Linked DNA regions of Homo sapiens: region 1 is linked to region 2. The links are contacts of gene promoters, found by promoter capture Hi-C in human tissues and cell types (Jung and others, 2019). All regions are on one chromosome and are shown on one strand. Each heading gives the region's core, a stretch centred on a gene start or on the middle of the fragment in contact. The rest is flanking DNA. Distances are from core to core; before and after follow the strand shown. Region 1 overlaps PLEKHA8 (pleckstrin homology domain containing A8). Region 2 holds the start of WIPF3 (WAS/WASL interacting protein family member 3).

Region 1 (2,857 bases), core at 307-2,806, 260 kb before region 2:
CACTTATCTCTCCTTATCTGTGAAAGCCTTTCATATTAAATACATGACTGAGCATCCTTTTAAAATTTTTTCTATTCTGTGCCAGAAAAGGATCTTGGTTGGGTTAACTTTTACTGACATTTATGGGATCATTCTGAGATGAGATATGTGGCAATATGTTATCCCACTGAGCACAGAGCATATAACATTTAATACAATGGTGCATGAAATGCCAGAGCAACTTTTCTTCCTTCCACTTGCAAGGATGCTTTCCAAAACCTCTTTCTGATGTGGAATATGCAATGGAGAGGGGGACTCAGCTCTAAAGCAGATTATTAAACATATCTGCCTTGTGAACCCAACTCCCTCCTGAAAATGACCTCTAAAGAATGTTAGGACACTAAGGGAACACAGCAGCTCTTAGCATGAAACCACCCAAAATGTTCCACTCTGATTATCATTATGGGGAAGCCAAGTGATGGCTCAAGTGCAAAAAGGGGCAGTGTAAAGTCTAAGGCTCCTTCCAGATGCTGGAAGTATTCCAGGTCACAGAACTGCAGCAATACAATAACTAGAGATGCATTTTCCAGAAAGGTAAAGGAGACAAGGCTTCTACAATGTTATTTAGGACTTCTACATATAAATGTACTATTTCCAAGGCCATTAAGACCATACAAGTTTCATGAACATTCACCTCAAACCTTACTTAAGCAGTATTTTTATTGGAAAGCTGTCTAATTATGATGAAAAGGAGGAAAATAAACTGATGCTATAACTAATTTCAGCAGTTTTACTCCTGCTTATTAAAAATCTCTTAGATGCAGTCAAAATCACAAAATTATCAAGATGTAGACAAGTGACAGGTGAACCTCAAAGGCCTAAGTCTAGATGACTAGGTCTCAAACTTCAGCATGGATTAGAATCATCTGAAAGACTTGTTAAAACACGGACTGCCAGGCCCCAGCCTCAGTGTCTGATTCAGCAGGTCTGGGGTGGAACCGGATAGTCTGCATTTCTAATGAGTTTTCAGGTGATAAAGATGCTGCTGACCTTGGAACAGCTTGAGAACCACCGATGGAGATTTTGAGACCCTAGGGAAGGTATTTATCCTCTTTAAACCTCAGTTTATTCACTGGAGAGTATTTGGAAGATTAAATAAAATATTTATCAAAAACTTAGTGTAGTAGTTACACTGGGTGCTCTGTAAGTGATAGCTGTTTTTAAATTCAACTTTAGAATTTAAAAAAGCCAACAAACTTGCCTATATATGGCATATAAATTGCACACACTCTCTTTTACCTACTCACTCACCCTCCCTCATTTCAAACAAGGTATCAGTTCTACTTATGAAGGCTGGGACTTCAAAATGAGAAAAAGGAACCATTATCCCAGAAGAAATATGCATCAAGGAGCCTACAGGTTCTGAGTAACTATTGTGTAAACATTTCTCAAAAAACCGTTTACGCAGAGCTTGTTGTGTCTGTGTCTGTGGGAGGGGAGGGTGGGTTTAACAGGGGAACTTTGGAGGGAGGGTGGGTTTAATAGGGGAACTTTATCTCCTCATACTAAGCAGCAGCAAGAAACTAGGGATTTCCACAAAGATAGGATTTAAATCATAAACACCTTCTTTGAAATAAGCCTGAACATCAGGACAAAAATGTCAAATTTACAGCCTCCCTTCTCTTTTCCATTGAAAATTGTGCCGAAGGAGAAGAGAGGGAAGAAAAAGCTGAGACTGGCTGTGATTATTGCAGTCACAAAGCAGCATTTGCCCTTCAAAGTCTCCTCTTTCTTCACAAAGTCAATACATCCCCTGGGCCCAGTCTCCAAATCAAGTACAACATTTGATGAGAAACCTTGAGGAGAAAAGGAGAGAGAAAAGTGGGCAGAATTGGGGTTGGGACTGGATAGAAATGGTATATCCTGTTTCCTTTCTATGTCTAGGGGGGTCAAAGCCCATAAGCAGCTGGGTTCCGTTCCACCCCAGCTCTTCCAGTGGGCTAAATGGGATCAGCATTGTCCTACTCCCCTTCCATAGACAGCCCTAACAAAGTAATAGCAGCATGAGACAAGCGGAGTCCACTGGGCACACAGTGCTAAACCCTGTATCTTCTGCATTTCCAACAGGTGGAGAAGTCTTTCTGCTAGCATGAAAATTCCATACTAATAAGTTAGTTTGAAGTGAAGTTTCTGGCTTGGCACCTAAGCTTTGTAAACTTTCCATTACTGATGTGGGACAAATAAGTCTTATTTTCTGGCAGGTTATTAACTTCATATATCATGATTATGATAATGATGACAAAACATCATTATCACAACAATAGATGCTAATCTTGACGACTGAGCATTGTTTTTTTGTTTGTTTGTTTGTTTTTGAGACAGGGTCTGGTCTCACTCGATTGCCCAGACTGGAGTACAGTGCCATGATCACAATTCACTGCAGCCTTGACCTCCTGGGTTCAAGCAATCTTCCCACCTCAGCCCCCTAAGTAGCTGGGACTACAGGCACGCAACACCATACTCAGCTAATTTTTGTAGAGATGGAGTTTTGCCGTGTTGCATAGGCTGGTCTCAAACTCCTGAACTCAAGTGATCCTCCTGCCTCAGTCTCCGAAAGTACAGGCATGAGCCACCACACCCGGCCACACTGAGTGTTTTGCGTACCAAATACTTCTGTAATTTTTTCACATGCACATGCACCTACTTAATATTTACAACCACCTTGTTAGGGAAATAATATCACCATTCCCATTTTATAGATGAACAAAGTGAGGATCAGAGAGGTTAAATAACTTGCCTAAGGGCAGAGCACTAATAAGTGGCAGAATCCAGAGAGCCACTCCAGAGCTCCTGATCCTACACTCCACAAGCCATAAAG
Region 2 (2,780 bases), core at 243-2,742:
TCTCCTCTGACCTCTTTCGTAATGATAAAGTTAAAAAAAATTGAAGGGAGGCAGGAGTCCCAGTGATAACTATTAATGCTGGGCACAAGAAGTGCACTCCCAGTCCTCCCTGTGAAGTGAGAAAAGATTCTGGAAAGGAGGAGGCGGAGGGGCACAAACCTTCTAAATCACACTGGTCATGCCAAACAAGGCCCTCATTTACAGCCAAGGACCCCAGGCACAGAGGCGAAGAGACAGCCTAACTTCCTGCTACAGAGTAACTTTCCTCCCCAATACAGCCAGTTACAAAGCGCCCTGAGTGTCAGGGATTGGCCACACTGTCCCAGGGCGCATGGAACCGCTCTCCTGGCCTTTCCCTGCAGAAACTTCTTTCCAGAGGGAGGCGCACACACGGTCCCCACGCCGCCCCGGCGCCCGCCACGGGCACACCCACGCGGCTGGCACGCCACCCTCCAAAGGCGCTGTTCCTGAGAGCCGGTGCCTGCCTGCCCACGGGGCCCGGGCGGCGCTCCTCCAGGTCCAGGGCGGCCGGGTGCCCGCCCTCCCCGCCACCTTCAGAGAGTGCGTGTCAGGGGCTGGGGGAAATCTGCTCTGCCACCTACCTACCCACCACCTAATCCTCCAAAGGACCCTAAACCCATTTGTGGCCAAATGTACATTGCTGGAGCACAGTCTGACTACTGACCCCAGGGGCTTGGAGATGAGCACGGGAGGGGTGTCCAGAGACCTGCGCTCTGTCCCCATGAGCTGTGTGACCTTGGACAAGTCACTTCACATCTCTGGAGTTGGCTTCCTCACTAGGGGGCTCCTTCTGTATTCCCCAAGCCACCTCCGGCTCTGCAATTTCCTAGCTCTCTTTTACTCCGCCCCAGCCCTTCCCGCGACAGCCCCCTCCCCAGCGAGACCCCAGCCTTTTGTTCCGGGGGCGAAGCGGAGAAGAGAGAGCGTCGCGAAGGACCAGGCCGAGGCGGCCTCGGTGCCAGGGGCTGCTCACCGGGGAGTCCAGTCCGGAGAAGTCACCAAGCAACCCCGTGGTGACCTCGCTCCCCACCCCGCGGTTTGTTTCCGCCCGGCCCGGCCCGGCCCGGCCGGGGCGGCGTGGCAGGGTGCGGGTGGGGGGCGTGAGCGCCGCGCGGCACGTCGACAACCTCCTGGGCCCGGGGCTGCAGCCCGGCGGGGGTTCCCCGGCCCTCCCACGCCCTCAGGATCTCTGTCCCGGGCCGGGCCACTCTGCTCCGGGACCGACCAGGGCGGCGGCCGCCACACCGCCCGTTCCTTCCACCCTCGGGCACCGACCCGCACCCGCGCGGGAAGCCGCTACCTGCAGGTGGCGGAGCCGGGGGCTGGACTGGACTCGAGCTCCGGCCGACGTCTCCGCCGCCGCCGCCTCCGGCTCCGGGCTCCGTCCCGCAGCGCCCGTGCTCCAAGCGGCGCCGCTACCGCCGAGCTGCGCTCGGTGCGCCCGGCTCGCTCCCCGGCCACCGGCTCTGGTGCTGCCGGGACGCGGAGGCGGGGCCGCCGCCCCCACCTGCTCGCAGGCTCCTGCCTGGGAGCCGCCGCCGCCCCGCGGCAGGGACACGGCCCCGGCGGGCGGGGTCGCTCTGGGACCCTGGAGGCGGGTCCCAAGTCGGCGGGCGCGCCTCCCGGGTACAGAGTCCCAAGTCTCAGCTGCGGAGAGACTGAGGCCTAAGGCTGGAATTCCCCAAATAGGAGCTGTTGCGCGGGCGGCACACGGCCCAGCACAGCTACTCTGGGGACACGCCACTCCTTGAATTTATTCCAAAATGTTGAGCCCTTACTAAGCTCCAGGCGGTGTCATAAGCGATGGGGACGAGAGAACAAGATTACCTCTTGCCCTCGTGGAGTTCACAGTCTAGAAAAGGAAAGCGACCAATGGGCGATTACAGCACAACCAAGAGGAGGCAGAGGCCTCCTGAGCCGGCTCCCAGAGGGAGCACCTGATCTAAACTTGGGGTGGGGAGTAGGTCAGGGAGGGCTTCTTGAGGAGCTGACGTCGACGAGAAAAACTGAAGACTGAGTGTGAATTAGCCAGGTGATGAGAGAATTATCCGGGTAGCCTGGGGAGGTAGATTGATGTCCCAGGTAGAGTCGAAGGGAGGAGAAAGCAGACTGAAAACTGAAATAGGGCCGGGCGCGGTGGCTCAAGCCTGGAATCCAAGGACTTTGGGAGGCCGAGGTGGACGGATCACTTGAGGTCAGGAGTTACTAGCCTGGCCAACATGGTGAAGCCCTGTCTCTACCAAAAAATACAAAAGTTAGCCGGGTGTGGTGGCGCTCTCTAGTCCTAGCTACTCGGGAGGCTGAGGTGGAAGGATCTCTTGAACCCAGGAGGCAAAAGTTGCAATGAACCACTGCACTCCAGCCTGGGCGATAGAGTGAGACCCTGTCTCAAAAAACCAAACCAAACCAAACAAAGAAACAAACAAAAACAAACCTGAAATAAGCTTGAAGAACGGAAAACCTTGCTTCTGTCACATTTCTTGTTCAGGCCCTTGGAGGATGCAGAAAGTTTGTGTCCGAGGCTGAATGCATTGCTGTAGGTGCTGAGATCATTGGGTGAGGATTCTGTATTGCCCATGTCCTGGGCATTCCTGCTAGTGGAGGAGCTAAGCGGGTACTCGTGGACTGTTCACTCAGCCTCGGTGTTTGAGTATCTGCCATGAGCCAGACACTCTGCAGGGCCTCAGGGCAAGGTGTCTAACTCTAAAGTTGCTGCTGGTCTGGAATAGAGGAGAAACCTGGCGCTCAGCGCTGTGCTG

Evidence for each region. Contacts are between HindIII fragments. The study calls those that stand out against the background at their distance.
Region 1: a fragment that was not itself captured here is called in contact with the fragment with the promoter of WIPF3 in region 2 in 2 of the 25 tissues and cell types used here (adrenal gland and dorsolateral prefrontal cortex).

Annotation. Positions count from the first base shown.
Region 1 is chr7:30,064,045-30,066,901 of GRCh38, reverse strand. All of the region lies in intron 12 of PLEKHA8 (pleckstrin homology domain containing A8), which reads right to left. Among named protein-coding and RNA genes, the nearest start is that of PLEKHA8, 37 kb to the right of the region's middle. The HindIII fragment of the contact is 3,555 bases long and covers 1-2,857 here.
Region 2 is chr7:29,805,220-29,807,999 of GRCh38, reverse strand. It overlaps WIPF3 (WAS/WASL interacting protein family member 3), which reads right to left and starts at 1,492. Exons shown (of 9, transcript NM_001080529.3): 1 at 1,322-1,492. RefSeq lists an enhancer at 847-1,756. The HindIII fragment of the contact is 12,406 bases long and covers 1-2,780 here.